7 separate regions of the Homo sapiens genome follow, and regions 1, 3, 4, 5, 6 and 7 are each linked to region 2. Evidence: promoter capture Hi-C in 16 types of primary human blood cells and fetal thymus (Javierre and others, 2016). All regions are on one chromosome and are shown on one strand. Each heading gives the region's core, a stretch centred on a gene start or on the middle of the fragment in contact. The rest is flanking DNA. Distances are from core to core; before and after follow the strand shown. Region 1 holds the start of H4C3 (H4 clustered histone 3). Region 2 holds the start of ABT1 (activator of basal transcription 1). Region 3 has its middle 15 kb from the start of H2AC6. Region 4 holds the start of TRS-GCT1-1 (tRNA-Ser (anticodon GCT) 1-1). Region 5 has its middle 2.4 kb from the start of H3C6. Region 6 overlaps H2BC6-AS1 (H2BC6 antisense RNA 1). Region 7 holds the start of HFE (homeostatic iron regulator).

What was found. Contacts are between HindIII fragments. The CHiCAGO score rates a contact against its expected background, and 5 or more counts as called.
Region 1: the fragment with the promoter of H4C3 here is called in contact with the fragment with the promoter of ABT1 in region 2 in 1 of 17 cell types (neutrophils); the score reaches 7.9 in neutrophils.
Region 3: a contact is called between a fragment that was not itself captured here and the fragment with the promoter of ABT1 in region 2, in 1 of 17 cell types (neutrophils). The highest score is 7.1, in neutrophils.
Region 4: a contact is called between a fragment that was not itself captured here and the fragment with the promoter of ABT1 in region 2, in 7 of 17 cell types (erythroblasts, M2 macrophages, M0 macrophages and 4 more). The highest score is 10.2, in erythroblasts.
Region 5: a contact is called between a fragment that was not itself captured here and the fragment with the promoter of ABT1 in region 2, in 1 of 17 cell types (neutrophils). The highest score is 5.8, in neutrophils.
Region 6: a contact is called between a fragment that was not itself captured here and the fragment with the promoter of ABT1 in region 2, in 4 of 17 cell types (neutrophils, naive B cells, total B cells and 1 more). The highest score is 9.2, in neutrophils.
Region 7: the fragment with the promoter of HFE here is called in contact with the fragment with the promoter of ABT1 in region 2 in 1 of 17 cell types (total CD4 T cells); the score reaches 5.2 in total CD4 T cells.

Annotation. Positions count from the first base shown.
Region 1 is chr6:26,101,019-26,105,302 of GRCh38, reverse strand. H4C3 (H4 clustered histone 3) reads right to left here and starts at 1,370. Exons shown (of 1, transcript NM_003542.4): 1 at 966-1,370. The coding sequence starts at 1,355. The coding sequence ends at 1,044. RefSeq lists enhancers at 1,008-1,698, 1,723-1,832. The HindIII fragment of the contact is 10,429 bases long and covers 1-4,284 here.
Region 2 is chr6:26,595,007-26,599,037 of GRCh38, reverse strand. ABT1 (activator of basal transcription 1) reads right to left here and starts at 2,085. Exons shown (of 3, transcript NM_013375.4): 1 at 1,815-2,085; 2 at 928-1,124; 3 at 1-773. The coding sequence starts at 2,055. The coding sequence ends at 393. RefSeq lists enhancers at 1,797-2,236, 2,794-2,953, 3,054-3,203. The HindIII fragment of the contact is 8,276 bases long and covers 1-4,031 here.
Region 3 is chr6:26,137,130-26,141,399 of GRCh38, reverse strand. No RefSeq gene overlaps it. Among named protein-coding and RNA genes, the nearest start is that of H2AC6, 15 kb to the right of the region's middle. The HindIII fragment of the contact is 2,247 bases long and covers 1,092-3,338 here.
Region 4 is chr6:27,094,323-27,098,189 of GRCh38, reverse strand. It overlaps TRS-GCT1-1 (tRNA-Ser (anticodon GCT) 1-1), which reads right to left and starts at 884; the gene lies at 803-884. The HindIII fragment of the contact is 661 bases long and covers 1,777-2,437 here.
Region 5 is chr6:26,220,760-26,224,687 of GRCh38, reverse strand. It overlaps a transcript of H3C6 not described here. Among named protein-coding and RNA genes, the nearest start is that of H3C6, 2.4 kb to the left of the region's middle. The HindIII fragment of the contact is 2,020 bases long and covers 1,661-3,680 here.
Region 6 is chr6:26,158,327-26,162,418 of GRCh38, reverse strand. H2BC6-AS1 (H2BC6 antisense RNA 1) reads left to right here. Exons shown (of 3, transcript NR_186648.1): 3 at 1,214-2,145. It overlaps H2BC5 (H2B clustered histone 5), which reads right to left. Exons shown (of 1, transcript NM_021063.4): 1 at 3,812-4,092. The coding sequence ends at 3,869. Among named protein-coding and RNA genes, the nearest start is that of H2BC5, 2.3 kb to the right of the region's middle. RefSeq lists enhancers at 1,097-1,848, 3,917-3,966 and a silencer at 2,624-2,918. The HindIII fragment of the contact is 1,067 bases long and covers 1,068-2,134 here.
Region 7 is chr6:26,085,996-26,090,319 of GRCh38, reverse strand. HFE (homeostatic iron regulator) reads right to left here and starts at 2,891. Exons shown (of 6, transcript NM_000410.4): 1 at 2,804-2,891. The coding sequence starts at 2,879. It also overlaps HFE-AS1. The HindIII fragment of the contact is 3,203 bases long and covers 74-3,276 here.

The sequences.
Region 1 (4,284 bases), core at 121-2,620, 490 kb after region 2:
TATTAGACCACTTTTTTGTTTTGTTTTGTTTTGGATGGAGCCTCGCTCTGTCACCCAGGCTAGAGTGCAGTGGCACAATCTCGGTTCACTGCAACCTCTGCCTCCTGGGTTCAAGCAGTTCTCTGGCTCAGCCTCCCACGTAGCTGGGATTACAGGTGCCCGCCACCACGCCCGGCTAATTTTTGTATTTTTAGTAGACGGGGTTTCACCATCTTGGCCAGGCTGGTCTTGAACGCCAGACCTCGTGATCCACCCACCTTGGCCTACCAAACTGCTGGGAATACAGGCGTGAGCCACCGCGCCCGGACTTAGACCACTTTGTTTTGGCCAATAGGACAACAGCCATAGAACCCTCCGCAAATGAGAGCTTGTCCCTAAAGATGCTTTATTTACATAGCTGTGTGCCGCATGAGCCAAAAGGTGATAACCTTTGTTCAACACGCGCCTCCAGCCCTTCGGTTAAGTCCAAAGTACCATTCTTAGAATGCTCTAAAATACATAATTTTTTTTTTTTTTTTTTTTTTTTTTTTTGAGGAGTCTCTCTCTGTCTCCCAGGCTGGAGGGGAGTGGCGCGATCTCGGCTCACTGCAATCTCTGCTTCCGGGCTAGCTGGGCCTACAGGTGCAGACCACCACGCCCGGCTAAGTTTTGTATTTTTTTTGGTAGAGGGGGTTTCACCATTTTGGCCAGGCTGGTCTCGGATTCTTGATCTCAAGTGATACACTAGCTTTGGCCTCCCAAAGTGCTGGGATTACAGTCGTGAGCCACTGCGCCCAGCAAAATGCTTTTTGTGGAGCCAATCACTTTATTAGCGCTTACCTCTCTATGCCTACTTTATGCTTTGAAATTTTGTCACAGTGTGGCCGGTCATGGCAAACACAATTCATTCTTATGCAGGATGTCACGGTTATTTCTGTCATCCAAACTCATTCTCGCAACGCATTTCAGCTCTTTAAACGACTTTGTGAGCGGCCCTGAAAAGGGCCTTTGGGTTTTTTTGTTTTTGTTTTTTGAAGTTCTCAGGAGACCGCGTATTCTTAGATTCAGCCGCCGAAGCCATACAGAGTGCGCCCCTGACGTTTTAGGGCATATACTACATCCATGGCTGTGACAGTTTTGCGCTTGGCGTGCTCCGTATAGGTGACGGCGTCTCGAATAACGTTCTCTAAGAAAACCTTAAGCACACCTCGAGTCTCCTCATAGATAAGACCGGAAATGCGCTTGACGCCACCGCGCCGAGCCAAACGGCGAATAGCCGGTTTTGTAATGCCCTGGATGTTATCCCGGAGCACCTTACGATGGCGCTTAGCACCACCCTTCCCCAAGCCTTTTCCGCCTTTGCCGCGACCAGACATGATTCCTATCGCAGTGGAAGGTATGAACTGAAACAGTTCCTTAAATACAAACTTGGCGGACCTGATTGAAAACAACATGAGTTGGCGCGGTTTTTTTTTTTTTTCAAATTTGGTCACCAAGTGGGTGGAGCAAGAAAAACTGTTTCATTATGGTTCATTGTTTTGATTGGCCAGTGACAGCTTGCTCTTTGTGGGAGTGGAAGGGTGTTTGCAAGTTGAATGCGCTGTATTCCTGTCAGCTTAATGACGCTAAGCATAGCCCCATTCCACATTTCTTTTTATTTCCACTTGCTAACTAATAAATTACGGAATAGTTTATTGGGGAACATACAAATAATGTTTAAAGGAGGTCAGATTTATAGGTCAAGGGATTTACCCTCCCAATCATTTTAATATTTTTATTTAAACCAGGCATTTTGATGGCCTTCTCTGTGCTGGACAAGGTATAAGTTTGGCTATGAAGTTTCACTCCTAAAGACCCTATGTTTTGGGAAGGCAAAAAGGTAGCCAAATAATTGCAAATTAAAACCTCATAAGTGCAAACTTCTTCCTCGTCACTTTCCCTATCTCGATTCAAATATTTGTTGAATGACTCATTTTTCTGCAAAAGTCTGAGAGAGACAGGGAATATAAACTTAAGTCTGGATAATATGTTTTCCCGGGACGCTCTTCCTGGTCTGCTGTGCCTGTTTGCTGTGCCTGAAATTCCAAACACTCTTCCCTTCCCTCCGTTTTTAATCCCCTTTCAACTTGCTACAGCTTTAGAGAAAAGAACATTCGTTTTGTACAGTTGGGGATTAATTGAAGTGTAGGGCTAATACTTGATTAAGGTCATTACAAAATCTACAGGGTCTTCCTCTGGGAGGTTTTTGTGATAAGATTATTGGTGTTAAAATAAGGCTAATCCCCTTGAAAAATAAATAGAATAGCAGAATTGGGTCTGAATGTGGTTTGAAGAAAGGGACTTCTCAATTCAAAATTTTATTCTTAGCTTCCTGCGGGAGCTTTCCAGAATGCCCATAAGATCCACTTTTGTTTAAAAAACAAAAACAACCCCACCCACCACTCTCTGGTTAATAAATGAATTTCTATTGGGAATATTTAGAATGGGGCTGTGGCCTGTGAGAGACATTATATAGTAACCTCAGACTTGCTCACATGAAGAGAAGAAATCCAGGAATGGAGAAAAAAGACCCAGGAAAGGCCAGAATGCTCTACATGTCATATTGTTTGTATCACTTCTGAAATAATTGATTACATTCTTCTGCCCCAAATTGAGTTCTTAGGTTCTTCCACTCACTGTCCACATGCCACAACACAGACCTTATAACTAGAGACTTAGCTAGGAAGAAATGTCAAACATTACAGAGAAAAAATGCAGAGTCTGAGATCATAAGTAAAACTCTGAAATCTCAACATGCCTTTTAATTCATGAAAATAAAAAATATAGCAGCATATGCAATATGACAATTCTCTGAAAACATACATCATGTGAACTACCCTGGAACACATCTCGCCAAGTGCCATCTTCATTTTAACCAGAGGTCTAGGATGCCTTTCCTTTATTTTGCCTATTATATCATTTATAAAACCCCATTTTTATTTTGATATTTTATTTACTTTCTATTTCCTGCTCCTAATATCTCCTTTCTAAACTTTTCTCAATGACAGTGACTCAAAAACAATGAATGTCAGAACAAATATTTAAAGGATCTGTACATGTAGATATATATATTTAAAATGGATTCTTCCACTCTGCGAAGAATTCAGGCATACTCAATCTTATGGTTAGGGAGAGATTAGGCTCACTCGCCTAATCTGTATGGCTTCTCGTTCGCTTTCCATTTCACCTTCCTCTCACCCATCAGATCAAACTCATTCATTGAACAAGAGACCTAAGCCCTTCAGATTAAAACTCTGCAAACAAGTTGTGGTTGAGAGGATACATGAAGCATTCAAACAAATAAATCTATGATATTAATCAGAGGTTAATCTATGATATTAATCAGAGGTTAATGCAGTGGCTCACGGCTGTAATCCCAGCACTTCAGGAGGCTGAGTTGGGAGAATCGCTTGAGCTCAGGAGTTCAAGACCATTTTGGGCAACATAGCAAGTCTTCATCTCTACTTAAAAAAAAATAACCAGAGGTGTTATGAAAATATAAATTGTCCAGAACTACCCTCCACAAACTAACTCTCTCAGAATATTCGATATGAGGAATGAAATATGGTGTGTGTGTGTGTGTGTGTGTGTGTATGTGTGTGTGTGTGTGTGTGTATGCACCTATATATGGCACCTATATATTCAACAAACAATTCTGATAATTGGCCAGGGTTGAGAATGACTAGCAGCCCAGCATACACTATCAGTTTTAAGTATATAATTGCGCTTTAGTAAAATGTAAAGAAATCCCAGAGTAGAAATACTTTTAAGCTATATTACAGGTGAGAAAATGCATAAGTATAGTCTCACCCAACTTAGACTATGGGGGCTTTATAATGTCACAACAGTTGTTTCCAGGCATTTGGGGACATCACCACTGGTCTTGGGCAAGAAACTCCTCTAGCCAATGGCTGATTTATCTCACTCCCATCTAAGGCTTCACTGCATTTCTCTTTTTCAGCAACCTAACTTATTTAAAAATATCCATTTTCTGATTCATTTTTTTCTGAATTAAACTGTCAGTACCATTGGCACACCTTTGGTTCCGTAGCATACCTGTGTCTCTGCTGTGTTTTTTTTTTACCTCCACTCCTTACTTTTCTAGAAAAAAATCTCTGCTTTTTCTTTTCAGTTTAAATTATTTCACAAAAAGTTTTCTTGACTTGCACTTCCTAGGCTTGCTGTCCTTGTGTGGGCACGCTCCCATAAACACTATTAATACACTTCGATTTGTTAAAAATAAAGATATCTGGACAGAAAATTTCT
Region 2 (4,031 bases), core at 836-3,335:
ATACCACCCTCACCTGTGACTGCTAAACAGAGAAAGATTGCCTGGACTAGGCATTATCCTCCTAGTTGGAAATAAAGGCCCTTTCTGGGGGCAGGAAGTGGGATTTTCAGGGGACCCTACAGACGTAGGCAGCCAAGAGTCAAACAAAACAAGCATATGCAATAGTCATAATTATGCTAGTATGACAGTATGAATTAGGTGACTCAGCCAGGCACATACAGGAGTTCGGAGTGGGGACAGTGGAAGCCCACAAAACTCCATGTTTGGGCCATCAGTAGACACTTGGTCTGAGAAACACAGTAAAATGTCTGCCCGGGTAGTCACGATCATTCTAGTATGAGGTAGACAGGAAGCAGAGCAGGGCCAGGAAATGGAAGGGGCCACCCAGGCCCTCAGGAGTCCCTGACAAGGGAAGGTCCCTCCATGCTCTCTGAGGGTGGCGGGGCTCCAAAGATCCTGGCCAGGAGCCCTTTGTTGGAGCGGGCCTTGTCCTGGGCAGTTGCCAGGCGAGCCCGTTCACGTCCCCCTGGCCGTGCTGCTTTACGGGCCCTCAGTTCCTGCTCAGTAGGACGCTGGGCAAATGTCCAGGAGCCATCTGGGCGAGCAGGGTCCCCATCGGCCGCAAGAAAGCGTTGTCCCCGTTCCACACTTTGAAGATAGAAGTCGGTCTCACGCTTGGCTTGAGCAACCTCCGCTCTCAAGCGCTGCCTGCGCACCTGGCGCTCAAAGGCGAGGTGCTCGCTGAGGTGGGACCAGGTGAAACGGTGCAAGTACTGTGGGCAGAAAAGAAGAAAAGATCAGGATAGTGCAGATTAGGGAGAAAGATGAGACAAGGGGACAAGGCCAATGAGAGGCCATGGGGATACTTGGGCCAGAGTTGGGGAGAAGGGAGGGTGAGAGGTGTGGCAGAAAGATCTATCTTCTCACCTTGAGGTTCCAAAGATCATAACGGAAGGGGCTGCGCCTGCGGGCACCCATAGGCGTGTTGTGTAGACTGGCCGCCACGCGCTTGGCTATGCGCTTGTCACGGAACTCCACCCATCCCTCGGTGTAGTCCTTGGTGTAGGACCGCTTTTTTCCTCCGGCAGCTGCTGCTGCCTTCTTCTTGCGTCTCACGAACCGGTCTGCGCGCCAAAGACAAAGACCCGTCCAGGACGCCTATGCAGCACTCACTCAAAAGCACCTCCCACTGCCCGCAACGTTCTTCACATCTGCCAGTGGGAGTCCCACCTGAAGAGTTTTTGCCCAGGAGGAAGGGAACTGTAAATCGCACCCTTTCCTCTAGCTAACTCAATTCTTTCCTTAATTGTCCACTCCTTAATCTGGCCAGCCCTGAACGCTGCTTAAAACCGGCACAAGTCCTCAGCCTCAATGTAAAATTGAGGGTGGAAAGAAGAGGGGCGGTTGATCAAATAGTTTCTTGACCTAGGCAGCAATGCTAAAGAGTTATGTTCAGTTTTGTAGAAAAGCTGACGAGACTTTTACTCAGGTTGTATTCATGTAACAAACCAGTAAACAGGTCCGGAAAGAGAGGTGAACAGAGCCGGGATAAGAACACAAATAGTAACAATCCGAGAACTAAAGAACCACCAGACACACTGCGCTACCCACTCTCCCCATATCCCCTCCGCCCGCCCACCCCAGCATCCTCACAGACTGATTCACCAGCCAGGAGCCAAGCACCGCACTCCCCACCCCCAAAATCCAGCAACTCGTGCCTCAGCCTCGCGCAGCGAAGCAACAGGACATGCATGCTTGCACCCCGCCAGCGAGCGACAACCTCCTCCTGTCACCGTCAGGGCCTGCATACTTACCCTCAGCCTGAAAGAAGACGCGTCCGACCTCGCCATAGGCGCTGAGAAGGTTGCGGACGTGCAGGGGCCGGAAGCGCGGCGGGATATGGCCCAGGTACACAATACCTGGCACTACCCGTTTCTTGCTGCCACAGGCCGCTTCTTCGGATTCCTCCTGCTCCTCCTCCGCATCTAGTGTCTGTTCTGTCCCTTCCAGCGGCTCTTGCTCCGTTGCGGCCTTCTCCGATTCCTCTGCCTCCATGTTGACTGACACGAGCGGCACGACGGCCGTAAAGTGCCTTGCCAACTGACGCAAAACGCGTGCGACGGCCTGAGACGAGGGGGCGGGTCCAAGGTGGTGATGACAAATGAAAGGAAATGATTGGGCAATACAGTCGGGTCCAGGGGAAGGCCGAGGGGAGAGGGAGGAAGTGGTGTGTCAGGTCGGAAGCCTGATTCAGAGCGTGGAAGCGGGATGGGAAACTTGGGTTAGGCTCAGATTCCCGGTCAGATCTCCAACTCAGGACAGGCAGAACCAGAAAAGGCAGATCCCCAAATATAACCTACCCTATAGAACGCCTTGTCGAGACGCTAAAAGGCGGGTTGATGCCGGCTTTTTAGGGAATTTTGCAGAACAATTTTAGAGAAGTTTCTATGTGTTCTAGCGATCAAAATAGCATTTTATTCAAGGGCCCCGGGTGCGATTCCAGCTGAGGAATGACTCACCTTTTAAAGTTTATAAATTTCATTTAAAAATTTTGAGTTTTGAGGTTTTAACTATTTCTGGAAATTTACCTCGGAATTTTGAATATTTTAAAATTTAATTTTGAAAACAGTTCAACTTTGGAAATTTAATTAGATTTAATTTTTGAAAATTTAAGTTGTGAACTTTCAGTTTAATATTTTACATTTGATTTTGTGAATGTCTGAAAATTTAAATGTGTGACAATTATTTGAAGAATTTGTTTGGCATCTATTACACGTGTGTATTGATACATTATCCATATGCATACTTATGTTGCAAATACTTGTCAGAGGCGCACAAGCCTCCAATTCTGGCGACCCCCCGGCGGCGCGCTTATTTCTGCTCTCCCTGGGTCTGTCCTCAGATTCCCTATCAGATCACAAACCACTTTTCCTTCTATGACCTACGCAACCGCAGAACGGACCGGGCCACGGCGGTCCTGCTCCCACCAGGCGGCCTGCGGACCATCCCTAAGCCAAGCTCAGGGCAGTTTTCCCCGCGCGGGCTCGGGTCCTCAGTCTCTTATCGTCGCCCGAGGGCGCGACCAGCAGGGGGCGCCGTCCCCACCCTTGAGGCGTTTCAGTTCTTCCCATCGGCGCCAGCGACAAGCTGACTGCAAAGGACAGTGCTGGGAACCGCGTACAAGTAATCCGGTTAGCTTTCTGGAAGCAGCCCGGGGCGAGTTTGATGACTATCAACATAAATCCGTCCTTGCTGCGGCCTGACAAAATTTCCCATCTCGCTCCAAGAGCGCAGAGTAGCCCAGAGAATGGAAGCAGGGAGTAAATGTGTCCACTATTAAAATCAGAGATGACAGTTTTTGCCAGTCCCCAAGTATATTTCTAAAGTAACAGGGCCCTGCACTCTTTCATGGAGTGTCTAAAAGTCTAATAATAGACTTCTCGAATTCAAACACGCCTGTTTCATTAACTTTATTGAAGAGAACTTTCTGTCAGGTAGGTGTCCACTGCTCCTTTTTTGAAGAGGAGCGGGGTACGATGAGAGCGATAAACTCCGTCTACTGCTATTTAATTATAAACACTGACATCTTCAAAACACAGTACAGTTAATGAAATGAGAACACGTGTTGGGGTGGCTTTAAAAGATCTGGAGCTAGGGGAGGGGCATGATGGATGCAAGAGTGTCGGTAAGTTGTGCCAGTGTGGTGGCTAATGGTAGCTATTAGCTATTTTCTCTACTTTGTATATATTTGAAATTATCATTAATAAAATGTTTATTCACACCAAGTATCAATATAACAGGGGGTGCTAAAGGACCGTGAAACCGACAAAAAAAAAAAAATGAAGCCTTGGGGCAGCGTGTTCTTCCCGTTCCCCACATTCCTCATGATCCCTTCTCAACTTGGTGAAAATCGAGTCCCACTCAACTGTCTGTGAAGCAACCCTTGTTAGCAATTTTCAGGGTGGATTATTTTCCTTCTCTGAGCGTCTTACAAATTCCTGAATAAGCAAGCTGCACATGCGTTCTCCAAG
Region 3 (4,270 bases), core at 966-3,465, 460 kb after region 2:
TCACTATCCACCAGACCATGTTCACTTTCTCAGAAGGCCTCCCTGCCCCTCTGGGAGTGGGAAAATGGTCAATGGAGGGCCTCACTGAAGTGATATTTAAGCGAATGAGTATCTCCAAAAAGAGTGTTCTAGGCTTCCTCATAAAATTTGGAGAGCAGACATGAAAACAGGGAAGGTGAGAAACAACATAGAAATATATGCAGTGGGTACACCTCATAGGAAAGAGTATGGAACTTAAATCAGACCAGAAGCGTAGGGGTCATTTGAGACAGGGCCCTTCTGGGTAGGAAAACAGCACAATAGAGTGATCCAATGTGCACGTGCTGGATGGAGTTGGGGAGTGGGGAGAGAGAGATGAGGCTATCTTTACCAGGAAGGAGCAGAGAATATTTAAGCAGAGAATATTTAAGTGGTGTGACGATGTATGTTTACTGGCTCTCCAGAAACAAAACAAAAAAACCCTGATGTAACATATGCTAGTTCCCATGATGTAAATGCTGCTATTATGGCCAGTTTCAAACCACCAATGTTACGCTGACCACAGAGTAGAAAGGAAGGAAGGCTTTAAAATGACGCATAGATCTTTAATTGGAGGTCAGAGAAAATGAATACCAAGGGCAGAAATATATCTCAATGTACGGATGTGGAAAAGCCATTGACTTGTTTTTGTGACCATTACCTAAGGCCAACCAATTCAGAACCCCAGCCTCTTCATCCTTAATCTGAAGGGACTGTGCTAAAGAAAATGGGAGTTTCTTTCTGTCCTCTTTCATTCTTTCCTTCCACAGGGCCTGTCTACCTAGGGCCTTCCACATTTCTCTTTGCTCTGCCAAGTTTGCTCAGGTACCCAGTCTAGATGAATTCTCCATGTCCTCACTGAAGGTAGGAAGTCAAGTTGAACCAAAAGCAGGGGGCATCCCTGTTTGGAAAGCCTCTGCTTCTTGAAAGGTGGCTCAGCTGAGTTACAAACACGCATGCCTTCCACTGGGGCTGCTGCTTCTGAACCTGGAGCTGACTTGGTGGGAGGTGTGTGGGTACACTCCACCACCATTCAACATTCCATGTCTACCATGCTGACTCTTCTAAAAGCTTCATGTAGCCATGGGGGCAAACTGCAACCAGACTCAGTTAGTACTTAGGTGTAAGAACCCCAATTACTTCAATTTCTGCAGGTGGAAGCCAGCAAATCTCTGACAGAAATCCCAACATCCTGTCCTGCTTTCACTTTTCCACATTTGAAAATGGACAGAAGACAGTCTTTATATAATCTTGCACATATTTGTCAGGTTTTACAAGGAATATAGTGTTTTCTCATCTGCCATCTCATTTGATAGTTTTTCATAACTCTGGGAGGTACTATTACCTTATTTTACAGAAGAGAAATTCTGAGATGGCAGGTAACTAATCCCATCAGACATTTGGTGAGTGGCAGAGCTGAAAAAAAATCACAAGTATTTTGGCTTCAGATTCCTGTGTCTTTCCAGAACACCTGAGTGTCTATGCAGGTGTGTGTGTGTGTGTGTGTGTATAGACACACAAAACCCACTTTTTATAGATTTATTGTATAGGCATTTTTGTTTTTTTTGAGACAGGGTCTCGCTCTGTTGCCCAGAGCTGGAGCGCATTGCTGTGATCATGGCTCACTGCAGCCTTGACCTCCAGGGATCAAACAATCCTCCCACCCTAGCCCTGGAGTAGCTGGGACCAGAAGTGCAGGCCCACCAAGCAGTTAAATTTTACATATTTTGTAGAGATGGGGTTTCTCCATGTTGTCCAGGCTGATCTCGAAATCCTGGGTTCAAGCCATCTGCCCAACTTGGCTTCCCCAAATGCTAGGATTACTGGCCTAAGCCACAGTACCTGGGCAAAGTACTTCTTAAGAATAAATTGGGTGTTCCCTTCTTCCAACTCAGCCTATGATATTAAGGTGGCTCTCTTGCCAGCTCCTGAAAATTCGGGGCCAGAATTGAAATTTCCATACAGAGTAGGCCTCATGAATTCATCAGCCATTTCTCGGGTGACTACTATTTGCCAGGCAGCGTCAGGCACCATGCTGGGACCTGGGAATACAGCAGTGGACCATACAGGCCCTTAGCCACCAATACACACAGATTTGTAAAAGTAACAGTCAGTCTTAAAACCAGACCTTGACTGCAGATGAAAAAGTAGGCAAAAGAGGGCAGGCAGGTCAGGAGGATGTGTTTCCTAATCATTATGCAAGGAAGAAAGGAAATGGCAATTTAACCAGGGAGGTGTCCTAGGCAGAAAATTAATGACACATGCTTTCCTCTCCCTTTGCATTACCTTTTATTACCTCATGCCAGGCTGGAATTTGGGAAATCTGTTTCTATTACAATGTATACATTATACATTAAATAAGATTATGCACATTACAAATAAAATTATTTCAAAATTAAGAAATTACACATAGTTCAATTAAAATTAAATTTGAAAATAATTTTATTTGTGCTGTTCTTTAGAGCACCAACAATTCATACACATGATCTTCATTCTCATAGCCACTTAAGGTAAGTATTACCTCCATTTTAGAGGTGAAGAAATTAAGGTTCAAAATAACTAATTTGGTGATGGCCACATAGTTTTTAAGAACGTTGAGTCTAGCCCAAGAGTGACTGGAATTTTCAGTTCACTTACCACCATTCCAGCAGAATAGCAGAGCAATTTCAATTTTGCAGTAAATCAGGGTTAATCATCCCAGAACTGTTTGATAGCAAAAGACTAAAACAACTCAAGTGCCTACCAACAGTGGACAGGTTACATAAAATATAATGCATTTGCATAATGCAGTACATGCAACTGTGTACAGGAAGCTCTGTATGTTCTCATAGGGAAAGTTCTCCAAGATAGATTGTTATGAAAAGGGCAAGTGCAGAAAAGTCTACACAGTCTGCTACCTGACAAGAATGAAAAAAGTGAAGAAAACACGTATCATTCATTATTGACTGATATCAGCAGGAATGAATACTGGGCAGATACACAAGAAAAAGAAAAGTGACCACCTGGGTAAGTTGAGGGATGGATTCTTTATATATAATCTCTTTACTTCAAATAGTTTGAACCCTGTGAATGTAATACTTATTTAAAAAATTAAACACATTTTGTATTCAGAAGAACTTCCCCTCAATAATATTCTTTCTCTTCATTTTATCCTCCTTATCTCCCCACACATGATGTAGAATGTTTTTAATAAAACAATTTGCGGATGCAGAATCAATCAGTAATGTAGGAATCAGTAATGCCATCCATCCACTTATTCCTTAGAATTGGTAAGTTTGGCAGGCACTTAGGATCCTGGCATCTCTCTGAAATGAGAAGCTTTTGCAACCTAAGAGAGAGAGAAGAAAAAGTAAATATATCTGGAAACCACCTTCTTGGCCTTCCTTACACATACAGAAAAACTTACAGATCCTTTTCTTCATAATGAGTTAGTTCTTTACAGGTACCACAGCCCTTCTCAATTCCTCAAATAACTCCCTGTGGTGTAAAAGGACCTATCCAGACTAGACACTCCAGTTTTGCTCTTCAGATAGGGTTGCTAGATTTGGCACATTAAAAATACCAAATGTCCAGTTAAATCTGAATTTCAAATATATATATATATATATATATATATATATATATATATATATATATATATATATGTATAGAATGTCTCATGTAATATTTGGGTGTGCAGTGAGGGGCATACTTAAGCAATTATTTGTTGCCTGTTTGAAATTCAAATATAATTGGGTATCCTGTATTTTGTATGGTAAATTTATCCTCTGATTCCACTTGGAGGAAGCTAGTTAAGTGCACTTGAACTTATCAGCCCAAGGGCACAAAAAGTACCTATCCCAGTGCAATGCAATAGAATTTTCTGTGATGATAGACATGTTCTATGTCTGTGTATCCAATACAGTAGACACCAGCAACCTGAAATGTGGTGAGACTGAGGAAACTGAATTTTTGACTTAATTATTTAAATTTAAAATATCACATGTGGCTAATGGCTACTGTATCAGAGAGCAAAGCCCTAAAAAGAGTCATGTATCTCCCTTCAATTTAGCAACTGGGATTTAAGATCCAGTGATGGTTAAAATGATACATAACTCAGGAATACACTCCTAAGTCTCTGTGGCTTAGATAGTGACTACTCCGTTTCTGCACAAACATGTTTTGCTGTCAACATAATCATTCTGGGTTTTTTTCCCTGTATTTACTGAAGATATATTATATGGAAAGGATGTGAAGGGCCAGGGTACAGGTA
Region 4 (3,867 bases), core at 858-3,357, 500 kb before region 2:
GCCTCAGCCTCCCGAGTCGCTGGGATTACAGGCGCCCACCACGCCCTGCTAATTTTTTGTATTTTTTAGTAGAGACGGGGTTTCGCCGAATTGGCCAGCCTGGTGTTGAACTCCTGACCTCAGGTAATCCACCCGCCTCGGCCTCCCAAAGTTCTGGGATTACAGGCTTGAGCCACTGCGCCCGGCTTGCTTGCTTGCTTTTTTTTTTTTTTAACAAAACAAAACAAAACAAAAATCTTGTGGCCATGTCGTCAGTGCTACACGTTTCTTCAATGTTGGTCCCTCGATTTGTCTTGAGAATCTAAGTAATTGAATTTCTGTGTTGGTGTATTTGTCGTGCTGTTTTGTTTTTGTTTTTTTCTGCTTATCTTTTTGATGAATTTATTTTAATGTTCACAGTAGTAATGATTTCTAAAAGAAGCGGCTGGGATAACCACACCTCAAGTTTTTCCCCCTTTTTGGCAGCTTCATCTCTCTCTCTTTCTAGCCCCACCGTCACCTTCCTCTCCTCTCTATTGCCCTCTCCCCTTTCTCAGGCTCGAAGGCGTTTTTGCAGTCATCAGGTAGAAAGCCCACCAGAAGAGTACTCATTAAACTGATCACGCGCACAATATTGACAATCAATACCCCATCAACCATAAAGTTAAAAAACCCAGCAACACCATCGTTATACTGATGATACAAAATTACAAGAGCTCCTTTTTCCTCTCCAACGCCAGGGACCTGAATTCCAGGAGAGTTGAAAGGGAAGTTGGCTGGACTTGGGTGTTGTTTCCTCCTCTTCGTATTAAAAGACCTCCCCCGACGAGGGTGGGATTCGAACCCACGCGTGCAGAGCACAATGGATTAGCAGTCCATCGCCTTAACCACTCGGCCACCTCGTCTTGATAACCCACGTTTCCCGAGTATTTTATTTCAGAGTTTGTAATAGGAACCCACAGGCGGCCTTACAAGACTTAGGAAACGGTTTGAAGACGTTTGGGAGACGTGGAGATGGCTCGTTTTCACATGAATGATCAAGAACTGAGTGGAAACGCTTCGAGGGGGAATAAACGGGCTTAGCTTTCGTGGGACTCACACAAATGTTCAAGACATGATAGAAACGTAATTGCCGGGCCGGTCTCTCCCTTTCTTCCGCTTCCTGGTCCCGAGGCAGGAGGCGCCTGAGCAGGCTGCGGGCGTGACCGGGCCAACGGGGCGCACGGGGTTTGCTGTCGACCTGGGGCGTCAGGTGAGCCTGGTCAGCCCTTCTGTAGGCTCACCGCGTCTCGCTGCGTCGGATAGCGCACCTGGGAGCCAGCAGGAGACCGAGGTTCCCAAAACCGTTCACACCGGAGTCGGTTTCTCTTCAGAAGCCCACGCAAATCAATCACAGGCTAAACAACAGGGAACATAGGGGAAATCCTGCAGGAATGGACCCCTGCTGTATTTTCACACTCTCAATGTCAGGATATTTTACGTTAGATTGCACTAACATCTTGAGTGAATACCACCTTTGCTAGTTTCTGTGAATTCACAAAGAATCATCCGCTTTTTTTTTCCTTGGAAGAGCCCTTATATTGCAGTGTTTGCTGCGTTGACCTGCCTGAAATCTTCAACCTCAACTCAACCCACTTCCTTACCCGTTGTTTTCCATGCTCAGTCCCATTTGGGTTTTTGCCTCAAGACAGATCTAGTTTTCCTCTTCCAACAAGTGATTTTCCCTCATGGAACGCTCTTTCCCTTTCTCACTTTAGCCTGGCTGAATTATTTATCCATACTTTGGTTCTTAAAGCTTTTTAAAATTATTATTAACAAAATTTTTAATCAAAGTTAACCATACATGTTTTAAAAGCTCAATTACTTCAAAAAATATGTGTATGCGAAACAGTGGTCTCTCCTATCTTATTCCTCTTAGTAGAGGCAAACATTTTCAGCCATTTGGCGTTTTGTGTTGTTTTTACCTGCATGTCATCATGCTATGGCAAAGATGGCTAGTTGTCCAATCATTATTTTTGTTTTTTCCAAGAAATGGAAAATTAGCTGAGCTCATAGCCACCCATGAAAAGATTACAGTGACTTCCCTTGACAGTCAGCGTCATCACGTGACCAATTTCTAAGTAAAGGCATAAGAGAGAAAATGTATGTAAAACTTCCAGGTTATGTCCATAAGAGAAGGAAATAACCTCTATTTATCTCTTCCTCATGTATCTGCTTTTGAGAATGAAGGCTTCATGGAATAGTGATTGGACCCAGCACACTGTAGGAAGGAAGGAGCCATGACATAGAAGACTGGAACCAACACCATGAAGCCAAAGCATCACCCTGGCATTGATTACACCCTCAGACAGTCACAGGAGAGATCAGTAATGCTTCTTTTAAGCTATGGTTCTTTTGGGTCTTTGTTACAGAGACAAAATTGTACTCTAATACATATGCTACATATTAATTTTAAGCTTAGTATTTTCCATTGATTTCCCATTACACAAATAGAAGATTCACTTCTCTTCCTCACCGTAAACACCTCCACAGACACTCTTCTGATCAATTTTTCCTTCAAATATAGTTATATCAGAATTTTTATTGAATAAGTAATCACCCTTTATATAATTATGTTTGGCAATATTATTTACCTATCTTTCCTATTTTGTTTCCTGAACATTATTTTTAGAAAAAAATATCACAAATAACCATAAAAGCCTTGCCAAAACAATAAACTGAGTGATTTCTAAACTTGATATGGGGTTTTCATCGTGATGTCTTCCTTCACCATTGTACTATACATTTTATTTCCCTGCCACTGGTGCTGTATGCCCAATTTCTCATGTATTTTCTGTCTTACTATACCTTCACATTTTGGTGGAGTACATTGTAAAGCAGCTTCCTGAGAAAGAGTTCATTGTAGATGAGACTTTTTTTTTTTTTTTTTTTAATTTAAGACGGAGTCTTGCTCTGTTGCTCAGGCTGGAGTGCAGTGGCGCGATCTCGGCTCACTGCAAGCCCCGGCTCCCGGGTTCACGCCATTCTCCTGCCTCAGCCTCCCGAGTAGCTGGGACTACAGGCGCCCGCCACCAGGCCCGGCTAATTTTTTTTGTATTTTTAGTAGAGACGGGGTTTCACCGTGGTCGATGAGACTTTTCAATACTTCTCCAGCAACTTGATTGAATGTTTGTCTGGGAAATATTTTTCAGGCTTTTGAAATTTATTTCAGGATTTTGAGAGAGTTCTCTATTTTCTTCTAGCTTCCAGTATTCATTTTGAGAAGTACAAAGTCATTCTAATTATGGAGTCTACATTTGCAGTTAGCTTTTATTTATCTATTTCAGGATAATTTCCTTGTCCTCAATGTTCTGCAATGTCTGAAAGATATGCTTTAGTGTGTTTCTGTTTCCATTCCTTGTTTTGGGAACTCTATTACATCATTAAATCCTGTATTTCGGTTAGGGATATTAGCTTGTTTTTCGTTGTTGCTAGTTTTCTGATTTCTGTGTTCTCTGCCCTTTTTTTTTTTTTTTTTTTTTTTTTTTTTGAGACAGAGTCTTGTTCTCTTGCCCAGGCTGGAGTGGAGTGGAGCAATCTCAGCTCACTGCAACCTCTGCCTCTTGGGTTCAGGTGATTCTCTGCCTCAGCCTCCCAAGTAGCTGGGACTACAGGCGTGTGCCACCACACTCGGCTAATTTTCTTTTCTTTTCTTTTGTTCCTTTTTCTTTTTCTTTCTTTCTCTCTCTTTCTCTCCCTCCCTCCCTCTCCTCCCTCCCTCCCTTCCTTCCTTCCTTCCTTCCCTTCCTTTACTTGGATTTTAAATCTCCAGTATGTTTCCTCTACCTTTTGTTTTGTTTTTACTGCTCTTTCCTGGTTACATTCTTTTTACTTTTAAAAAATTAATAG
Region 5 (3,928 bases), core at 1,421-3,920, 370 kb after region 2:
AGAGTACAAGGCTAATTCACTCAAACAAGGTTTTCTAAGATACACTGTTAAGCATAAGGAACTTTGTGTTTCATTTGTGTTATAGTAAAATTCTAATATCCTGGAATCCCTACCTCTGTAATATCGGGTTTGACTCAAAGAACTTAACACTATTATTTCGTTTTGTTGAAATTAAAACGTCCAGACATAATGGCAAGAGCCGTCAAAAAAAGTATTTTCAATTTAAAATCTTGAAAAAGATGGCGGCGAAGAGAGTGTTAGAAGGTTGTTTCTCTGTAAGACAACAATGGCGCAGTTTCTCCGGATCCCTGCGGGAGAGAGCTGAGGTGCACCGAACAATTTAAGACACATCCAACAGAACTTTTATAGGAACTGGACTCACCCAAATAACAGGACTTCTTAACTTGGTTTTCGCTTCCACACTCAACAGCTCCCAATTACTTTGAAAAAGTAACAAATGTTTACTGGAAAAGATTCTTAAAGAATGACATTACAGCCTAACACTATTGTGAATTAACCTATCGGATTCCCTGTAAGGTGTTCTTTTCCTAGCCAATAAAAAGAGCAGTTTGGGAATTCCTAATTTACATACTTTTAATCTATTGGCTACTTTGGTTCAGGCAGAGTTTTGATTTACAAGTTCGCGTTTGTGTAAGCGTACTATAAATATTTCAGAGAGGGATAGTGCGCGTGCGTGCCCGTTGCAAGGTCTAGTTTCTTTTTGTTTTTCTTTCCCAGTAGGTTTTCTTTCTCATTGGAAAGCTATTTTGTAAAGTGTAGCAGGTTCGCAATGACGCTGGCATGTAGTCCAAGGCGATTGACATCATGAATATGCTGGAGCCCCCGTCCTCCAGGGAGGGGAAACGGCTAAACCAAATTTATCACTGCCCGCAAATGCCCGCGGATGTCTGCAAGCTGGAGTGGAGAGGAGACAAAGGATGCTTTGTGCATTCCTGCTCATTCCCTGAATTCTGTTAAACCTGCCCTATTTTAGGGCATTCATCAAAATTCTGCTAACCACAGGATTGATACAATTGCACCTTTCAAGTTAGTGTCTATTTTGCAAATTTGAATTATCTTAGGACTCGTGGGCAAGTCTTGACTGAAATTACACATTGTCGTGCGTTTCAATCTCACATCTGAAATATATATGAGTCCCTTGCTTCTCTCCTTTTCAGAAAAAGAAAATTCTGTACACTTTAAATCACGGTAAAACGGTTAGGTATGTTGGCAAAATTGTTTCATAGGAAGCAAGGGAAGAACTGAAATCCTTTTGTATAATATGATTACGTATTTGTGGGCTGGGCCGTTTGTTAATGAGAGCTATGCACCCCCTGTGCTTTTCCTCTCCACACTCCCTACATCTCATCTTCTGAGGCCCAAGACCTGTTTATTGATATTATCTTCTGTTTTCTCATTTTCATTTTAGTTTTTTCATTTCTATTATTAGAATGTTAATATCTACATCTAAAAAATGTTTCCAAAATCAAAAGATAAACTTTAGGTCACAGTCAGTGAGAACCATTAAGGAAATTCCATCTTTATGCCCCATAGTTCTATTTCCTCCCCAGTGTTCTTAAATCTGTCAATCCGGTGTTTTGCCATTGGAACCTACCTTCAGTTCCTTTCATAATCCTCATCTCTAAATATGTGTAAAGCTTTATTTTAGAAGTCAGTGCAAAATTTACATGATTACATAAGAACTTAGCAGCTCACTTGTATTAATCAGTAATTTCCATCACTATTTCCATACCTGAACACAATTTCCCATAGGATCTGTGTTATGTGATAAAACAGTCAGAAACCAGTTGTGGCTACTGAGCATTTGAAATGTGGTTGTTGCTGCTGAGGACTGACTTTCTTTTTTTTTTGAGAAGGAGTCTTGCTCTGTCACTCAGGATGGAGTGCAGTGGGGTGATCTCAGCTCACTGTTAGCTCCACCTCCCGAGTTTAAGCGATTCTCCTGCCTCAGTCTCCAGAGTAGCTGTAGTTACAGGTGCTTGTCACCATGCCCGGCTTATTTTTTTGGGGGGGGTGGGGTGGAGGTATTTTTAGTAGAAACGGGGTTTCATCATGTTGGCTAGGCTGGTCTCGATTTCCTGACCTTAAGTAATCCATCCACCTCGGCCTCCCAAAGTGCTGGGATTATAGCCGTGAGCCACTGTGCCCGGCCTGAATTTTTATTTTACTTTTCATTATTTTAATTCAAAGGCTGATACTTCAGTTATTGGAAAATGTTAGATATGTTTTAAACAATCAGATATATGAATTTTATTTTTCAGCACTGAAATTTATGAAATCAAAATGAAATTCCATTTATTTCCAACAAAAATGTAATATCAAATTGAATAGGATGTCCCTCATATTTAGAAGACTTAAGATTTAAAAAAGAATGTGAAATATTGCATTAATAATGTTTTTATATTGACTATATTTTGAAATAATTATTTTGTATTTTGTTTTAAATACAATAATTATTAAAATTCTTTTACCTGCTTATTAATTTTTAAAATGTGCTTACTGGAAAATTCAAAATTACATATGTGGCTTGCATTATTCTTTTTTATTTTTATTTTTTTTTTGAGGCAGAGTCTTGCTCTGTCACCCAGGCTGCAGTGCAGTGCTGCCGTCTTAGCTTACTGCAACCTCTGCCTCTCCGGTTCCAGCGATTTTCCTGCCTCAGCCTCCTGAGTAGCTGGGATTACAGGCACCAGCCACCACACCCAGGTAGTTTTGGTATTTTTAGTGGAGATGGGGGGAGTTTCACCATTTTGGCCAGGCTGATCTTGAACTCCTGACCTCAGGTGATCCACCTGCCTTGGCCTCCCAAAGTGCTGGGATTACAAGCATGAGCCACCGCATCTGGCCGTGGCTTGCATTATTCTTTGTAGATAGCACTGTTCCAGGATTCTTCATTTCTCTTCTCTGTTTCTTGATTCTTTACCATATCTTGACAGCATAGGCCTTGAAACAATGAGTACATTCAATATATTTCTATGAACCCAGTTATAGCATCTGGACTTTATTTACAATAAATCAATATCTATATTTATATCTACATCTATATGTCTATACAGTTGTGTTAGAGAGCTAAGGGGGCTTGTTAAGCCATTACTCAATGACGCAAGAAGAGGTGGGCAACTAGCAAAATTATTGATGTTTGAATTTTTCCATAGCAAAATATCAGTAAGTGGACAGTATTTGAAATTCTTTTAGCCGGGCACAGTGGCTCAGTCCGATAATGCCAGTGACCCAGGAGGCTGAGTTAGGAGGATTGCTTGAGGCTAGGAATTTGAGGCTGCAGTGAGTCATAATTGTGAGACTGCAACCCAGTCTGGGCAACAGAGCATGACCCAAAAATGAAAAAAAAAAAACAAAACAAAACAACAAAAAAAGAAATGTTATATGAATATTTTCCCCTCGATCATATATTTTTGAGGGACAGCCTCTACAACTGCTAATTCTGGTGTTTAAAAAAAGGGGAAGAGAAATCACTGTGGAAGCACAATGCCATTTCATGAAAAGAAGAAAGTCCGGAAAATAATTTGCTATTCCTGGAAGCTACATAAGCTCCAAGAAAAACTCGGATGAGAACATCAGGTCAATTACTTTGAAGTCTAAAAAGAATAAAAAGTTAAAGTGTTTATTATTATATAGGAGCCAAGGCGAGCTCTGAAGCTTTGCTGTAAGATTAGCTTGCAAAAGGCAGATTAATTGGAGAAAAGTTACACAAATTTATTAACGTCTTCAAGGGAGCCTTTAGGATGAAAACACAAAGATACAGGAAAAATTGTCCAATTCTATGCTTAGGTTCAACAACATATGGACAACCTTGTAGAAATTTGATTGGATAAAAAGGGTATGATGAAACGTTAATAAACCGAGTGGAGAAACCCAGCAAGGCCTGTTTGTCTAGACTCTTCTTGGC
Region 6 (4,092 bases), core at 352-2,851, 440 kb after region 2:
AATACCTGGTAGCATGTCTAATGTGACATATTGTTTGTGATGGTAGCTAGCACAGTAAGATGATTAAAGCAAACAATAAATAGTTATGGGAGAGAATATCGAACATTTTTATTTGCTAATAGTACTATATGCAATTAAAATCAAGTCAGTCGACTATTGATTAGGATTAATAGAATTTGATAAGGTTAGCTAGACACAAAATTCATGTAAATAACCAATTATCCAATTATCCTCCTACATGCAGAATTTCAAACAGTGCTTTAGTGTGAGGTCATATGTCAATATGTAACAGAAGTCACAATCTTTTGAAAATCAGTATTACATCTGTAAAAATTTGGAGAGCTTAATTAATTCACAGCACACATAGTGACTCCCTTTTTTTGTATCATTTTTCTGTTTAAATATTTACTTTGTTAACCTAGGCTTGCTTTGATGAGCAATACATTAGGTTTCAATTTTTATTTTCTTATATTATTTTTAATTATTAGTAATCCATCCATTCTAGAAAATTATTGGCCATGATCTTTTAAATCTCACATTTGCATCATTCTCCCTGATTGTTTCTTCTGGTACTGTGATTAGGTCAACGTCAGATCATATTTTACTACTAATTCTAGGTCTCTTTTCATTTATTTATTTATTATTTGAGACAAGGTCTCACTCTCATTGCCCAGGCTGGAGTGCAGTGGTGTGATCATGGCTCTCTGCAGCCTTGATTTCCCTAGCTCAAGTGATTCTCTCACCTCAGCCTCCTGAGTAGCTGGGACCACAAGCACGCACCACCATGCCTGGCTAATTTTTTGTATTTTCAGTAGAGTCGGGGGTTTGCCATATTATTCAGGCTGGTCTCCAACTCCTGGGCTCAAGCAATCCTCCTGCCTTGGCCTCTGAAAGTGCTGGGATTACAAGCATGAGTCACCTTGCCCAGCCCTAATTCCAGGTTTCTTAAACTCACTTTTGCATTTTTATCTCTGCATTTCAGATAATTCCTTAAGATCTGATTACATAGTTTATTAAATTTCTACCGGTAGGTCCAATTGGCTGCTGTTAAACACATGCAGTAAGCTTTTCATTTCAATTTGTCTTATAATTACATGTTTATTTTCTAGAATTTCTATTAGGTTCTTTTTTCAAATCTATGTGGTCACTTTTGGTATTTCCTTAGTCCCTCAATATATTTATAAGACTTTTTGTTTCTTTTTTTTTCCTTCAGATGGAGTTTCACTCTTGTTGCCCAGACTGGAGGACAATTGCGTGATCTTGGCTCAATGCAACCTCTGCCTCCTGGGTTGAAGCGATTCTCCTGCCTCAGCCTCCTGAGTAGTTGAGATTACAGGTGCATGCCACCATGCCTGGATGATTTTTGTATTTTTAGTAGAGATGGGGTTTCACCATATTGGCCAGGCTGGTCTCGAACTCCTGAGCTCAGGTGATCCGCCTGCCTCAGCCTCCCAAAGTGCTGGGATTACAGGCGTGAGCCACTGTGCCTGGCCTCTTTTTCTTTTTTCAAAAAGACACTAGTCAATTCGAGTCTGTTTTTTTTTTTTTTTGAGACAGAGTCTCATTCTGTGGCCCAGGGTGGAGTGCAGTGGCACGATCTTGGCTCACTGCAAACTCCACCTCCCGGGTTCACGCGATTCTCCTGCCTCATCCTCCTGAGTAGCTGGGATTAAAGGCGCACACCACCACACTGGCTAATTTTTTGTGTACTTTTAGTAGAGACGGGGTTTCACTATGTTGGCCAGACTGGTCTCGAACTCCTGACCTTGTGATCCGCCTGCCTCAACTTCCCAAAGTGCTGGGATTACAGGCATGAACCACCGTGCCTGGCCTCAAGTCTGTATCTTGTTAATTCTCCCTTTTCATTTCCATTGTCTGTTGCTTTTTTTTTTTTTTTTTTTTTTCAGAGACAGGATCTCAAACTTTTGGCCTCAAGCAATCCTCCAGCCTCAGCCTCCCGAAGTGCTGGGATTACAGGCATTAGCCACCACGCCCAGCTCCCATTGTCTGTTGCTTTTGTTTTCATTAGTCATACTTCTAGTTTCATGATGTTTAATTTAGATTGTGAAGCTCCTTGTGCATTTTTGGGGGGATATTTTAGCTGTGGCAATTTGTTGAGGTGTAAAATGAAGCTTCTTTTCCAGAGATGACTTGTATTTGTTTCTACCGGGTGCTCAGGGGCACAAAACCAGCCTGGGATATGCCTAAATTAAATTCTCAGCTTGGGTGTTTGAATCCCTATGGTATGAATGCCAGGAACAAGTAAGCATCGATGGCTTGTAGTCCAAGCCTTAGCAGTAGAATCTACACTGCTCAGAACCCAACTTCGGAGCTGACTTTTTTATTTGCATTCATCTGTGATGGGTTTGTATGTGTGGTTCATCCTTCTACTCTTGAGATGACAGATTTAGGTCTGGTGTCTCACCTTCACCTAAGAAGATATATCAGGCTCTATACCCTGGTCAGTTTCCACGGGTTGAGTAAAAGCCAGCTGTAGTGCTTGGGGTTTAACATGGGCCAAGTCCCTGGCTCTGAGTTTACTTTCTTAGACCCTCTTTCTTACTTTTAAGAATTTAGAAAATATTACTCAGGCTTTTATTTATCCGTCCAAGTACCACGCTTGCCATGTTATGGAAAATGTATCCCATAATCCATCATTTCGTGTTTGTTTATGAGGGCATGAGGACAAACTTCTAAATTCATTCCTCTTTTAGACAATGATCATCCATCCATCACTTAAATTCTCCCTCTCAGCCAACATTTGACTCCAAACCTAGCCTCATCCATCTCACATTTTTCACGTCTCAAGTATTTGTTCCTTTCCTTCTGGCCACTCCCTCCTAGTTCCCTCCCGACTCTTTTCCGAGATTCTTTTTCTCCCGCAATCATCCATTCCCCAGCAGTGAAAACCTTTTGTCATCATCCTACCTTGTGCAGCAGAAGCTACATCCTGCCAGAAGGAGGTTTTCTTTCCCTTTCTACCTCCTCCAGTCCTCCGTACTCAGGGGCATCTAGGAAAGGATAAATTGTACTGCAAAGGGGGCTTCAGTCCTGCGATAACTATTGCCTACGTGCAGTCAGGCACCTTAATGATTGACTATTTGGTTTCTGCCGTTACCCGGAGGACTTTTAACCTGAAAGCTGCCAAAAAAAAAAAAAAAAAAAAAAAAAAAAACCTATAAATTAAATGACTTTCAGAAAAAGACGGTTTAGCAAAAGAATTTTAAGGTGTCTCAGAAGCTGCTTCTTTTTCCTGCACCTCAGCGCCTAGGATCCGCCTTTCCCTGCCCCACTCGCTTAAGAGCTTCAGACAGAAACTGGCCCAATTACAAAACAAATCAGAAACCTTTGTAATAGTTCCGTGTTCAGCTCACATTGTCTTCAGCCTTTACTTGCAGTTATTACATATCTGCATGGTAAAAATTTTACAAGAAAATGGGCGGGGGTGGTGGTGGAGAAAGCTCCAAACATAAGGAAGTTGTCAAGAGCGTGCACTTTCGTGCTCAGGGCGGGCCGTCACCACACCGAGTCCCGGATCAACATCACGATCAACTTGGAAATCTGCACACGGAAACCAAAGAGCTGTACATTTACAATACTTTCAGTTTATGCTAGTGTTATGTGATACTAAATGAGCTAACGATCTAATACGTACCCATAGCACTCAATTTCTAGTACCTATTGTTATTCCCTGTAACTTCCAAGTTATTTCCTCTGCAGTACTAACGTAACATTAAAGATTGGTACTGTGGTGCTAAGTCCAATAACCCCCCTTTTGAATGAAATGATTACAACTCATTTATTGAAAACATGCGTGGCTCTTAAAAGAGCCTTTGGGATTAGGTGTAAAGATGCTTACTTGGCAAAGTTACTTGGAACTGGTGTACTTGGTGACGGCCTTGGTGCCCTCCGACACGGCGTGCTTGGCCAGCTCCCCCGGAAGCAGCAGGCGCACGGCCGTCTGGATCTCCCTGGAGGTGATGGTCGAGCGCTTGTTGTAATGCGCCAGGCGGGAAGCCTCGCCTGCGATGCGCTCGAAGATGTCGTTGACGAAGGAATTCATGATCCCCATTGCCTTGGAAGAGATGCCGG
Region 7 (4,324 bases), core at 1,642-4,141, 510 kb after region 2:
AGGCGTGCGCCACCACACCAGGCTAATTTTTGTATTTTTAGTAGACATGGGGTTTCACCATGTTGGCCAAGCTTGTCTCAAACTCCTGACCTCAAATGATCTACCTGCCTCAGCCACCAAAGTGCTGGGATTACAGAAGTGAGCCACCGTGCCCAGCCTTGGTCCTGAATTCTTACACTGAACTGCCTATGTGGCCTCACCACTTGGAAGCCTGACTGGAATCTCAAACTTAACATGTCCAAATGCAGATCCTTGATTTACCCCAAACTGCTCTTTCCTCTGCCTTCACCATCTCAGAAATGGCATTGCCAATTACCCCACTGCTCAGGCCAATAAAATTAAAATAAAGAACAAAGTCAACTTTAACTCTTCTCTTTTTCAGGGGGTCAGGGGAGACAGGGTCTTGCTCTGTCACCTAGGCTGAAGTACAGTGGCACAGTCATGGCTCACTGCAGCCTCAACTTCCTGGGCTCAAGCAATACCCTCCACCTCAGCCTCCCGAGTAGCTAGGATCACAGGTGCATGCCACCACACCCAGCTAATTTTTGTATTTTTTGTAGAGAAGGGGTTTTGCTGTGTTGCCCAGGCTGGTCTTGAACTCCTGAGCTCAGGAATCTGCTCTCCTTGGCCTCCTCCTTGGCATGAGCTACTACACCCAGCCAATTCTTCTCTTTCTCTCACACAACATAGAATCCTTCAGCAACTTCCTTCAGAATATATTCAGGAGACAATGGTTTGTCACTCCCTTTTCTGTTCCCACCCAGCCCACTCCACTACCTCTTGCCTGGACTGTGTAACAGCTTCCTGGCTGGGCTCCCTGCTTTTACTGTTGCTCCCTTCATTCTGCTTTCCACATAGCAGCCAGAGCAATCTTTTAAAAGCCTGTGACAGATCACTGTTACTCCTTGGCTAGAATTCACACCACAGCCTACAGGCGCCTGCACAACCTTGTTTGTGGCTCCTCTTCTGAGCCCATTACCTACTTCTTGGCCTCTACTCCCCAGCACTACTTGTTTATTTTTTTCAACCCGAGCTTCTTAACCAGGAGTTTGTCTACTAGGTGACATGTGGCAAAGTTTAGAGACATTTTTGGTTGTCAAGACTGGGGGAGTGCTCCTAGCACCTAGTGAGTAGGGAGGACAGGATACTGCTAGACATCCTACATGCAGATGGTAGTCCCCCTTCCCACCCCCACGCCGCCCCCCCCCCCCACACACACACACATGAGTAGTGCTGAGAAAACCCGCTTTTTAATCCAACTTGCCAGGCCCACTCAGTTTGCCTGGGAAATACTGCTCCCAGTCAATATCATTCTTATTTCCTTCATGTCTCTGCTCAAGTGTCAGCCCCAGAGTGACTTGCCCTGACTTCTCTGCTTCTCACAACACCCATGATTTCCTGATGTTGTATATCTTTCTGCTCATTTGCTTATTGTCATCTCTCCCACTAGAATGCAAAATATCAAAGGGTAAAGACTTGTTTCCCTGCTCTCTCCCTTGGGGCTTGAACAGTGCAACACATGGCTGGGACTCATTTACACTTGTAAACAATGAATATTTCTGCTCAACATGAAATTTTATTATTCAACCTCTAATGCAGTGTGATGTTTAAGAATCATAGCTATGAAGTGGAGACATGAGCTCTGCCACCAAAGCCCAGTGTACCATTGAATAAATTTGCCAGGAAGCAGGCCGTGCCATGCCTCATTCTTGTCATGTGTAAAATGTGGATACACGTAGTACCAAAACTCAAAGTGCTGTGCTGAGGCCGGCGTGTGACCCACAGAACACTGTGCTACACTACAGGGCAAAATCACTGTCAACTAAGATTAGAAGCAGCTGTAGTACTTGAAATAACATCAGAAAACCAGATTATTTATGTTCTTTGTAACCTGAAAAGAGTTATATAATCTGAATTCCAGTTAACTTCTAGTAAAATAAACGTATTATTAGCTCCTACCTCCCTATGCCTAGTGAAAATCAAATAAGATCAGATATGAATGTAACTTAGAAGTGAGTGCATTGCTTACATGTTCATTATCAGTACTTTGTAGAGAGGCCTCTTAATTACACAGCACATTGCAAATCAATAAAGCCTAGCCGAAAAGAGAATTGTTCAGTTCAAACGTTCAAAACTAACATATACTTAATTTTCCAGGCAAAAGAACAATTGCCAAGAGTGGGGAAAGGCCCGAGGTAGGCCTCTCTCAGGAGCCTCCCACCCTAGAGACCTCCACCCCAGGTCTCACCAAAAGTGGGTGGAATGGTGAAGAATTCAGATCCCCAACGCCACTCTTTCGCGCCCCCACCGCCCAACGCATTCGTTCTGAGGTGGAAACCCCGTGCGGATCCTGCTGTGGGTTTGCTCAGCCTTCTCGGCAAGCACTCAGGGAAGAACTTCCTGTTTGGAGATGACTGGGGAAAAAACTGCACAGCTGACATTGGAAATAAACCCGAGTTCCAGGTTCAAGGAGCCCCAGGCTTAGCTCAGCTCAAGTGAGGAACTACGAGATTTATTTAAAAGCATTCTAGTTGGGGGAAGGGAGTGGGCGGTTCCAAAAGTCACTCCGCAGAGCCGGGACAGCCGGGGGAGGGGGCAGGTCCTGGGGCGAGGGACCCCTATCTGCAGTTCAGTGGTAGGCACTCCCTCACGGGGTCTGGACGCAGAAAGTAGGGAGAGGGGCTTGCGGATAGGGTTGAGCAGGTCCTCCAAAGTTAGCAAACTCCCAAGCGCAAAGAAAAAGCTAGTTTCGATTTTTCCACCCCCGCCGCGCCCCTAGTTCGCCCGCAGCCCTCGGACTCACGCAGCAAGCGCCCCTGCAGGACCGCGGTCTGCAAAAGCATCAGGAGGAGAAGCGCCGGCCTGGCTCGCGGGCCCATTTCCCCAGCTCTGGCCGCACGTCCCCGTTAAATCTCCGCTTCTTTTGGGGGGCGGGGAAACGGGGATGGCTCCAGAAGTCACCCTACAGCTATTGCCTAGGCTCAGGAGATGCCCAGTAAAACTTCCTGGTGAAAAGCAACAGGTCTTTCAGAACTTTAGTTCTCTCTCTCCTACAGCAGAAGGTACCTGCTTGTGAAACACTAGGTGATCCAGTGTCCCCCTTGGTTTTTAAATCCTGAAGGGGTGTTGTTGATTGGGGAAAGTAGCTTCGCAATGTTCTGATCTGAACTTTAGATATTTAAATATTTATGATTTTCAAAATTCAATCATACATTTAAAAATTTTATCTCAACCTTAGACCAACTTATGTCTTATTTGACTTAGAAATATAAAGCTTTTTCATTTTGTTTTTTGATTCAAATTAATTAAGTCATAACATTAACCAATTAGATCCTACTGAAACACCTTCCACAGCCTTCATAATTGAATTATCTGACAAGTGTTTCACAAACTTTACAGTATTGGGATTATCTGGAGAATGATTAAACATATTGAGGCCTGCTCCTAACCCCAGACACACTGATTTAATGGGTAATTGTTAGGTAGTTAGACATTAGCAGTTGGGAGGGGATGACAGAAGAGAGCGGAAAGGCTGTCACTAAGACAGCCACTGGCCCACCTAAATTCAGGCCCAAGACTACCCTAATGCCACCCTAAGGGATGGAGTTTATGATAAAGTCTGTGGCCAAAATATCCTGGAGAAAGAGAAAGGAGGGTACAGGTGGAAATTCCCTAAGGTGGCACATGCCCAACAACACAAAAGCCTGTCTTCAAGTTCACCCCAAGTTCATCATGCCATCATTATAATAGAATTTACATACAGTTTTGCCCCCCCATCCCTGGGAGGCTTTTCTTAACAAATTATAGGTAAGACCATGCACAGTTTAATTTTAGATTGTATAGCTATACACTTCAATCAAATAACATCATCCTGTCACTCAGATACAGCCCAAACCTCAACTCCTCCCCACAAACCCCATAAAAGCACCTTGAGCTCTGTAAAGAAGTGCTGAGTTCACTTCGCAGAAATAAGCCCGCTGTCCCTCAGAGTGTATTATTGTGCTTCAATAAACTTTGCTTTAAGCTTGCATTTTGGTGTTAGTTTGTAGTTCTTTGCTCACTATCACAAGAACTGAGATTGCTGGTTCAGAGCTCCGGCTATAATAATCTCCTCGGTTAAAGGATCCATCCCAATGCATAATTCCCAGTAACAGTATGGGATGCCACCTGGGCAATGGGATTTTAAAAGCTTTCCTTCTCCCTCAACGAAGTTTGGGAATTATTGCCTTAGACATTTCAAACAATATTAATAAATTTAATACACCTGATTTGCTCCAAACCTTTACATATCTAGCAAATTCAACAGGCATTATTTTTGTAAGCA